Regions from separate parts of the Homo sapiens genome. Here region 1 is linked to region 2. Evidence: promoter capture Hi-C in 16 types of primary human blood cells and fetal thymus (Javierre and others, 2016). All regions are on one chromosome and are shown on one strand. The core of a region is centred on a gene start or on the middle of the fragment in contact, and the rest is flanking DNA. Distances in the headings are between cores, read along the strand shown. Region 1 overlaps WNT4 (Wnt family member 4). Region 2 holds the start of C1QB (complement C1q B chain).

Region 1 (5,043 bases), core at 1,527-4,026, 520 kb before region 2:
TCCCCCCACCCAGGCTCAGAACTCAGCAAGGGGAGACTGGCTGAATGACAGTCGCAGGGGCTTAGGGTGAGCTGCTGGGCTGCCGTGGCCGTGAGTCACTGGGCCAGCTTCCAGGAAGGAGCTGAGCAACCTCTTCCGTTGGCACCAGTGCCCACCCCCAGCCCCTGCCTTCATCTGGCACAGCAGCTGTCCCCTTCCGTACACACGAGGCCCAGCCCCATCCCCACCCCTGTTCCCCCAGACCCCAGGGTCTCGCCCGGGCAGGGCTGGGTGCCAGGGCTGGAAATGGAACCGGGCACCGGCTCTAGAGAGTGAGAACCCCAGGCATTACAGGCCCTCATCCACAATGTTTCTGCTTGCCCGTTTCAGTATCCAACTAGCATTTGGCTCCATTTCACAGATGAACAAACTGAGGCTACGGAGATAAAGCAACTTGCTTAAAGTCCCACAGCTAGAGCGGCGAGCTGCAGTGCAAACCCAGCCCTAACTCTCAACTCTCTTTCCTCTGTACCTGGCTGTGGATATGCCCCATTTACCTGCTGAGGGGGGCTAACACTGCCCTTGGTGCCTCACACAGGGCACAGTGCATAGAAGGTGTTTAATAAATGCCTGCAGCAGGATGGAGGGCTCTGTCCTGACGGGGTTCCCTCTGCTTCCCTCCTGGCAGAGTGCTCAGGATGGGGAAGATAAGGATGAGGGAGGAATGTGGGGGCTGCTGTGGTCTTTTGATCTGCTGAGAGCCTGGAGACCCATCAGGGCGAGGCCTGATTAGTACTGGACACCTCAGGATTCCCAGTGCCCTAGGGTGGCTCAACCCCAGAGACACGTGTGCCATCCGCTGACCCTGGAGCTGGACCAGGCTCAAAAATGGAGTGCACCAGCCCTTTCTAGGGGTGACAGAGAGCCAGGGCGTGATGGGTGGGCCGGGCCAGGCTGTGCAGGGCCTTGGCCATCCCTGAGGCTTCTCCTGTCGTGGCTGCATTGCCCCAATTTAGGCTCCTTCCTGCCACCACGGAGTACAGGCTTAGCAATTTGCCACCTGCTGCCCTGGCCACCCAGGACTCTCGCCATGGCCATGCCGTTGATCAGGTTACCCCACCAGCCCAGACCGCCCCTGCTGCTGCTACCAGCCAGCTCATGCCCTGATCTTCTCCAACGGGGGCTGCAGGTCCTGCAGGCTCCTCCCAGGAGGCCCTCCCCGAGCCCGGCCCGTGCCTACAGCCTGCGAGGCTGGAGGGCCCTTGCCCTGCCAGGGAGATCAGATCCTCTCAGCCACCTGCTGTTTTCATTAGAAACTAAAATTAGCTGGGCTTGTCCCAAGCTTTTCCAGGTTTGCTTGCTTTTTAAAAAAAATATACAAATTCCTAGAGGAAAATCTGCACCTCTGCGACTCCTCCCAGCTCTTACGCTGTGAGTCAAGAGGAGAGGGGACGGGAAATAGCTGGAGCGTTTGGGAGGCCAAGCAGATCAGTGTCGTGGGTCCCGGCCCTGCGGGTGTCCAGGTGGGGGCTGGGACGCCAGCGCAGGCCTCTCTGCCCCCTCCCTTTGGCCTCCCTGCCTGCCTGGGCCACATTTAGAGCCTCCTCAGGAGCGGTCGTGCCTGCGATACCAGGGAGGAAGGAGGCCAAGTGGGTGGGAGGGGGAGCCGGAAGAAAACGGAGTGGCTGCTGAACAGAGCTGCCTTGGGGGATGCGGGCCAGTGGGGGCGAAAGTGACCACAGTCCCCATCTAGGACTGTGTTCTTAGGGGGATGGTACCTGGTTTCCCAAGATCCTAACCATACCCCCCACTCACTTTTACATCTTTGAATGTTTCTATAACCACAGTCTTGGTATCCTGCTGTGCTCCCCCTGATGGTGCCCTAGCCTTGGAGACCCTTGTCTTTTGGCATGGCAGGCAGTGCAGAAAGGACATGGACCAGGGACTCCTGGGTCCAAATGTCATCCTTGTGTTGCTTGAAGCAAGTTAGTGAACACCTCTGAGCCTCAGCGTGTTCATCTGTAAAGTGGGGAGACTGGAATTCCTGCACGCAGGAGGCCTAAATGAATGAAATCTGTGTGCAGGAGATGCTCGTCCCTGCTGCAGCATTGTCCTAGCAGCACCTTCAAGATGCTCACTGTCATCGGTGCCGTCACCACCCCTCCCACAGCCTCTCCCAGTTCCTCTGGCCACCCCTCTGCTGCACCCCAGACCAGACCCATGCTGACTTCTGCTCATTTGTGTGTGTGTTTTTTTGCTTGGGTCTCTTGGCCCTCTTAGTCCTGGGTTCCCAGTCTTTTTTTCAGCTGATCATGCCTGAGAGGTGGGACACGCTCCCCCGGGGTACAGTGGATGACCTCAGCAGCCATCCCAATGGCAGGCTTTTGACAGAGTCTCCAGATGAAGTCTGCAGAGTTTGAGGATGTGTTTCCTGGCGACTGTCAGTCAGACCCTCTGAGGCTGGGGAGTGTGAGAGATGGGTGGAGGGGATGGTGCTGCTAGGACATCAAGAGCTGGGACACTGGGGTGAGGGCAGGGACAGTGGTGTGCAGGACAAGCTCAGGAGTGTCAAGGGGACTTGGAAACCATTTGTGGGCATCACAGAGTGGATGCATGGGACCTTCACTTATACTCTGCAATCAATAGTCACGTGCTTCAGTATGTCCTTAGTGCAACAGCACAGGGCTGGCTAGGCAGGTGTCTTCCCCTCTGTTTCGCAGATGAGGAAACTGAAGCTCAGAGAAGCATGTGTTTGAGCCCATGCAGCCTGCAGTGGAAGGTCAGGATTTGAAAACGGGTCACTCTGGCTCCTAAGCCAAAGATGACCCAGGGTACTGAGGCATGAAGTTTGGCAGTCAACAGACAGTGACCTGAGGGAGGAGGCCTGATTCTTCCCTTGATGGGTCTTTCTAGAGCCCCATGTCTTTTCTGAACTACAGTGAGGTGTCTGGGCTGTGTTCAGGAGTAAGGGGTGCTGGGGACAGATGTCTGGGTGGTTACGGGACTGCCTGGACAGTATGGAAGCCTGTGGTCTCTGTAGCTGTTGGGGCCATGGAAGGGTTGCTGCCACTGGTCCAAAACCCCTGGAGGGGCAGGCTTTGGAGACACTCATGGTGGTTTGCAGGGCAGTGGGTGCTGCCTTCACCCCTCAGCCTTAGCATGGTCCTAGGTCTCTCAAGGCCCAGGCCAAGTCCTCTTGGCCTCAGGTGCATTTCCTCAGGCGGAGAGAGAGAACGGCCTCCCCTGGAACCCAGGCCTCCACCGCCAGTGCACACCACTCTGCACCTTTGGGCCCCTTTCCCTCTTTCCTGTCTCCTGGGACCCCTCGCTCCCATCTCCTATCCTTGGAAGCCTCAGTGCCCTCATTTTCTGACTCTTGGTTTCCCAATTCTCATTACTTCCAGTATCCTGGTACCCTAGCCCCCTACATTTCACTCCTGAGGGCTCTGTGTCCCCCACTTCCTGTTTGGGAGCCCCCAACCCCATTTCCCATCTCACTGTATGTATTCCCAGCGAGCTGGTGGCTGCCTCAGGGCCACAAAGTAGCCCCTTGGACCTGAGCCTGGATGGCCCCAGAGCTCTGCCAGGTGAGAACTTGCCTTCTCTCCCTGAGGCAGGTGTGTTGTTGGGGGGAGTGGGTATCAAATTTAAGGCTGGTCTGACCTCACCTTGTCCCCCAATTTGCCAGCAGAGAGCTCTTCCTTTGCTAGACCCATCCGACCTGTGTCCCCACAACCTTTCATGTCCTGTGGCCACTGACCCATTGAACTGTCCTCCCTGCTGGGCTGAGGGAACCTGGGGTTGGGGAAAGAGGAGGGACAGGTGAAACCCCAGCAGAACTGTCCAGAGCCAGTGCTGGCCTCCTGGAGTGAGGCTCCCGGTTTCTAGTGAGTTCATCGGCCTTGGGGGATACCTTCCAAAGGCCCAGTCCTAGGAGAGCCTGTGGCTGAACCCCTACTCCCACCCCCACCAGGGTGGGGCTCATCCCCCCAGCAGAGAATAACTGGCTGGGGGTACAGGGCTGCAGGGCTGCAGGGCTGCTGTCAGCGGCTGCGGGAACAGCTCTGGGAGACCTGGGATGGAGTCCTGGTTCTACCACCGCCATGCTGTATGGTCCTAAGTGCCCAGCACAGGGCCTGATGTGAGGAAGTGCTCGACATGTTTGCCTGGGGGCATCCCAGGCCCTCCCTGGCAGGAAGGTTCCCCAGGGGGTTGACTGAGAATCCCCAAGAACCCCCTCACACTCATGCCTCGAAGCTTGGGTTGCCGGAACAGCTGGGCACCCGACTCAGGAGGGGCTATTCTGCTGTCTCCAGCCCTTGGGGAAGGGTCTCTAGGGCCCAATCCTGGGATTTCAGGGCTTGTGTGTGAACAGATTGAGAAATAGGGTCTGAAGGGACCATTCACAGTCATCTCGGGGAAGGGCCCTGAGGCCCATCAGCATTCCTGCTGTTCTAATGGGCCTCTCCAAAGATACATGTGAGCTGTCCGAGGCTCCTCTCCCCTGGAGGACGCATCCCTTCCTCCTCCCACCTCCCTCCCGCTCTCTCCTCAGACCAGGTCCCCTCCTCTGCGGGGTCTGACTTGGCAGGGAACTTTCAGAACACAGTTTGGTTTCAGTTTGCCAGGACATGGGGGAGGGGGAGCTGGTGGGGTCACGGCAGGGAGCGAGCCGTCCCGAGTTTGGCTGAATCACAGAAGATGCAGTTCAGGACTCAGAGATAAAACCTGGCAACTCCTGTGGAAATCTGGAGAGCAACCCTGGGGTCGCAGCTCTGCCTGCAGCTGCGCCTGCTCCATGCAGTGAAGGGGTGACTGGAGGGCCCACGGCAGGCAGCTGTCACCCCACCCATGGCTCCCTGGCCAATCTGCGCCCCACTGGCTAAGCCCAAGCCCCTCTTCCCAGAGGCAGGAACAAGAGGAGGAGGCTTGGTGCAAATGCTCAGCTTTCCCAGTGTACCCACAGAGCCTGAGTTGGGCGAGTTTCAACAGGTTTGGGGAGCACTGTCTTGTCAGATGCTTGCTGTGTTGCTCAATTGCTAATCCAGGGCTGAGGGAAGAAAG
Region 2 (5,525 bases), core at 1,068-3,567:
TTGCAGGGATCAGGGATTTTCCACTCTCAATCAGGGATGTGAGTCCAAAATTTTGTAGGTACAGAGACCAGCTGGCTCCCATTAGCGGTCAAGGCCCAGGGACCCCTCAGCTCCTGATCCCCAAGTCCAGGCCTCCTCCTAATCCAGGCATGGCTTCTTTGCTCCTGGGTTCCAAGAATTCCATCTTCTCTTCATATAAGTAATACCGTTCCCATGTTTGCAGTGGGTGCCCACCAAGGGCTGGGCACTCACCTGGCCCTGGACATGGCAGGGGGACCTCGCTGGCCCCCAAAACAGCCCCAGGAGATAGGCGTTCATGCTTCCCATTTCTACACGAGGAAACTGAGGCCAGTAAACATTCCCGTGGCCACATAGTTAGCAAGACGAAGAGCTGGGATTCAAACTGCCAAAGTCCGTGCTCCTAACCCACCTCTGCTGCTTCCTGTTCTTAGCCTCACTGCTTCTACCCCAAATTGACATCCATCTTTTCCCATTGCCCTTAGCCACCTAAGAATTAGAGGCCCAGAGGCTGGGCATGGTGGCTCACGCCTGTAATCCCAGCACTTTGGGAGGCCGAGGCAGGCAGATCAACTTGAGGTCAGGAGTTTGAGACCGGCCTGGCCAACATGGTGAAACCCTGTATCTACTAAAAAAAAATACAAAAATTAGCTGGGCTTGGTGGCATGCACCTGTAGTCCCAGCTACCTGGGAGGCTGAGGCAGGAGAATCGCTTGAACTTGGGAGGAAGAGGTTCTAGTGAGCTGAGGTCGCACCACTGCACTCCAGCCTGAGCAACAGACTGAGACTCCATCTCAAGAAAAAAAAAAAAAAAAAGAACTAGAGGCCCAGAGCCACTCGGCTTTGGGAATGCTCAGAAGCCCTCAACTTGCAACCTACTAACTCGTTTCTCCCTTTGTGGAATCCAGTGTTTCTTCTCTTCACCCTAGCCTGGGTCCCTTCGGGACTATAGTTGACTGAGCTCAGAGACCTTTTGGTTTTATCAAACTTATCTTTCCCTCCTGTTCACCCATTGCAGTTAACACTTAATTTCCACCAAGCTGCATCCACAAGCCCAGTGAATTTCCATCTCCAAGCACAGATGTCAAGAGGGCCTCCAGCTCCTGGTGCTTGCTAGTCATCATGTCGTCTGAGACGCAGCCACAGGGAGAGACTGATATCCTAGTGCCAGGGATGCCGGCTTCCAGGTCTGCATCTGCCACCTCCATGAGGCATCGGCCCCAGCAGTCACGTCTTTCTGTGACATTTATCACAGAAGCAATGAAGCCTCATGTCATTCCGTGTTTAACACCAGTCTCCCCCCGTAGAAGGGAGGCCCCATGGGGGCAGGGACCATGGCTGATTTGCTAAGAGCTCTCTCTTCAGTGCACATGGAAGCAAACACTAAATATTTGTTAAATGGTGGGTCTCCCCTCTGGGCCTCAGTTTCCTCGTATATAAAATGAGGAGGATGGGCCGAGTAACCTCAGCCCCTCTCCGGCCCTAACTTGGCGTGATTCCAGGATCGAGAAGAAGCAACAGGCCCCTGCCTGGGCCTATTATTGTCATCAGCGTCCAGCCCTGCTGGAAGCAGAGGGAGGGGTATCAATAAATAATGAACACATTTAAAATTCATTATGAGATTATTTTCTGAGAACAGGGAAAGAGCAGGGGCACAGAATGGGAAGGAAGCAGAAGAGATGAGCCCAGAAAGGGGAAGCCTGGGACATGAAGTGATATTAACAATGAACACGTGCACAGCCCTTTACAGTTTACCCCCAGACACTTCCTCCCCCATCATTTCCTCCATTATCCTCCCAGTGGCCTGTGAGATCTGTATCTGTAGAGCAGGTACAATTATGGTCCCATCCTATAGCAGAGAAAATTGGGGCTCCCTTGACTGACAACACATCAACTGGCAAGTGGCAGAGGCGGGATTGGAATCAAAGGCTCTGACTGTAAGCCAGCACTCAGGCAGCGGGCCCGCCACATGATGCTCACTGAGGAACACCCCTGCCCAGTGTAGAAGAAGATCACGAGGTCAGAGAGCCTGGGAGGGTGAGCTGTGGATGTTCCCCCAGGACAGCGTGTTCTCCCCACAGCTGCTGAGTTGGCAGAACCAAACTTGCCACCCACCCGTCTCATTTACAGTAAATCCAGTGGGTTGCAGAAATAGGACCTGAAACTGCCTGAGGGCAGCAGGGTGGGGGGACAGTGAGGGGACGGGAAAGGGGCCAGCCTGCTGGTCCATGGGAGGGGACCGTCAGGGGAAAGCCCTTCCCGCCTCTGGGGAAGGGAACTTCCGCTTCGGACCGAGGGCAGTAGGCTCTCGGCTCCTGGTCCCACTGCTGCTCAGCCCAGTGGCCTCACAGGACACCAGCTTCCCAGGTGAGGACGGGGCTTGGCGCCTGGGGGAGGCTGGCAGGGCCAATATGGCAGAAAGTGGTGATTCCGTAAGTGTGAGCTTTGCGTCACCTGCCTCGGAGCCAGTTAGGCTGTTTAACAGTGCAGGTAGCTGGGCCCAATCCCAGACCTATGGGACCCAGATCTCTGGGGTGAGTTGGGGAGTCTGCTGCTACCCAGGGCCTAGCGGATGGGCAGGCCACCTAAAGCGGGAGCCTGGCACATAGGAGCTTTGGCATCGCAGAGACTTGAGCTGAGTCTGGCTCTGCACCTTATGTATTGGTTATCTTGGGCAAGTCACCTAACCTCTCTCAGCCCGGCCCCCCTACAGAGAACAGAATCTTTCAGCACTGCTGTGCCTTACAGGAGATCAAGCTTGCAAAAGCTTAGTGCATGCCCTGGCTCAAAATTTATCAGTAAACCAGAGGCAGGAGTGGGATTATAAGCCAGTCGCTCCTGCCCGGCCCAGCATTTCCCCAACACCTTGCTTATTTCCTCATACTCGCTGAGAAAGCTCAGCTTGACTCTTCCAAAGAAATAAGGGGATGTGCAGGTAGAGTTACGATGAGTTCTCAGCTAGTACTGAGTGAGCGCAATGTTTGTGCAGCTGGGGAGTGGGATGTGGCACTGCACGGGGCAGGGGGGACCTTATTTCTTCTAAGCGCCTTCTCCTGTCATCCTTCTGGCAGCCCTGTCAGGTTGAAATCAGCATTGCCAAGAGGCTCAGAGAGGTTAAGGCACTTGCCTGAGGTTATGCAGCCGGTAGCAGATGGGGCTTTAAAGTCAAGTGGGCCTGACTCCATGTTGCGGAAAGGGACTGCTGGACCGAAGGAGATGGAAAGGTCAGAGCCTGGGGGGAGGACAGGAGAAACCGCGCTGGCAATGATGATGGGCTGGCACAGGCAGGAGGCAGTTAAACCAGATGAGTTGTAAGCCCTAACCCAAGGCTGAAACTCGGTGGCTTTTGAAATGGGCTAGAACCAGCACTTTCCCACTCCCCCTGCCCCTGGCTTCCCCAGGAAGCCCAAGTCCTGTCAGTACCCTGCTCCCCACCCTCTCTCCCCACCAACTGGTCACAGCTCTCCACCCCTTGCTGCCTCCAACTGACAGAGCCCCTCCCTCTAAACACAGTCTTTCAAAGGGATTGTCTTTTTTTACTTCTCCAACCATCTTCCCTTCTGTTCAACCACTCAGGAATTCTTGGATGACAGTGATAATAATAAAATAGCTAATATTCATTAAGAATTTCCAACATGCCAGGCTCTGTTGGAAGCTGTAACTCATGTCCTCGCACATACCCTATGAGGGAGAGAGTAGCATTATCCCCACTTTATAGGAGGGTAAACTGTGGCCAGAGAGAAGGAGTGATTTCCCAAGTCCCTTAGCTAAGAAGCAGTAGAGACCTTATGTGAACGCTGAGTGTTGCTTTCCTTGTGACACTACAGGCTCCCGCCACCAGGTGAATGTGTGCTGCCTAACAAGAGCAGCAATCATCGTGGTGGTAAAAAGCCACTTTCACCGAACACTGACCATGTGCCTACCACTACCCTTGGTGTGTCCCATGCATTAGTCCTTTTATCAGGCTGTCTGGCTTCAAAGTTTATGTTTTTACCACCAGGTACAGTGGCCTCTTAACATAACATTGAGTTTTAAGATCCAGTGGATGTGGGTTTGACTCCCAGCCACACAGGAGCTGTGTGACTTTTATCAAGGTGCTTGCCCTCTCTGATCCCGTTGCCTCATCTGTAAAATAAGAAAGCAAGAGTGCATTCTCAGGGGCTGAATATCAAATTACAGGGGATAATGGCATGCAAGCCATCTGGCTCAGAGCCTGGCCTATACGTACCCAACTTATTAAAGTTGTTAAATTGCCATTTTGTAAAACCTTTAGCAAGAGCAAGAGTGAGAGCTGATGCTTATTCATGGATAAGCAGGACCATGCCCCTGAGCCACCCTGTCTTCAGAGCATAGAGCCTGACAGAACCTAAAGCTGTCACCAGCATTCCCTGGCCACACTCATCTTTACAGCTTCCTTTCCTTGGTGCACAGTGTCTGGCATAACTCAGGGCTTTCAGCAAGAAATTGATCAGGACTAGGCTGAGGGGCTGAGGCTGGTTTGCAGAGCATAGGAGCCAAATATCAGTAGGCCTTGTCTGGTCCCAGGGAGCCCTCCACATGCCAGACTCTGGGGTTGGGACAGCCAGCATGTGGCAGAGAGGGTAGGAGTTTGGCCACAACCCTGCTGTTAGAATAGTTTGCTGGGTGATTTTTGGGTAGGTTGCTTTCTAAGTTCCGATCCTCAGTTTCCTCATCTGCAAGATGGGAAATTAATCACAACCCACTTCCCCAGGGTGTTGAGAGGATCAGAGAACAGCAGCAATAGCAGTAGCAGCCACAAGTCCCAATGAGAGCTTGGGGCTCAAGGCTTTATGACTCTTTCCCATCCATGGTCTCACCTGGGTCCCTGTGGCCACTCTGGGAAGTAGGCAGAGACCACTCTGCTCCCCCATTTTAAGAGAGGATACAGTTCAGCCTCTGAGGAAAGGTTTCCTGGAGGAAGAAGGCTTTGACCCAAGCTTCGAATGAAGAAAAAACATTTGGATCTGGGCAAAGGTGGAATGGGCTGCCTCGAGAGGTAATGAGCTGCCCATCACTGAAACGGTGCAAACTATGGATGGAAGAGCCCTTGGCAGAGATGTCATTTCCTCACACTCTGCTGAGAAAGTTCAGCTTGACTCTTCCAAGGAAATAATGTGATGTGCAGCTAGCGTTGTGATTAGTTCTTAGGGCTGAGTGAACACAACGTTTGTGCAGCAGGGGAGTGCGTTGAGGCACCACACGGGGGACCTTGGCAGAGGTGTCATTGAGGAAACTTAAGAATAGGCTGAAGGGTCCTCAGGAACTTAAACATGGAATTGCCATAAGCGGTAATTCCTCTCCTGGGTATAAACCCCAAAGAATTAAAAACAGATACTCAAATCCTTGTTCACAAATGTTCATAGCAGCACTCTTCACAATAGCCAAAAGGTGGAAACTTCCCAAATGTCCACCAATGATGAGTGGATAAACAAATAGCCAAGCGAGATGGTGCGTGCCTGTAATCCCAGCTACTCAGGAGGCTGAGG

What was found. The method cuts DNA at HindIII sites, captures the fragments that hold promoters and counts their contacts. A CHiCAGO score of 5 or more calls a contact.
Region 1: a contact is called between a fragment that was not itself captured here and the fragment with the promoter of C1QB in region 2, in 4 of 17 cell types (megakaryocytes, erythroblasts, activated CD4 T cells and 1 more). The highest score is 7.1, in megakaryocytes.

What each region holds. Positions count from the first base shown.
Region 1 is chr1:22,132,624-22,137,666 of GRCh38, forward strand. All of the region lies in intron 1 of WNT4 (Wnt family member 4), which reads right to left. Among named protein-coding and RNA genes, the nearest start is that of WNT4, 8.0 kb to the right of the region's middle. RefSeq lists enhancers at 1-227, 567-1,292, 3,547-4,060. The HindIII fragment of the contact is 2,915 bases long and covers 1,320-4,234 here.
Region 2 is chr1:22,650,919-22,656,443 of GRCh38, forward strand. It overlaps C1QB (complement C1q B chain), which reads left to right and starts at 2,318. Exons shown (of 3, transcript NM_001378156.1): 1 at 2,318-2,385. The HindIII fragment of the contact is 5,474 bases long and covers 1-2,773 here.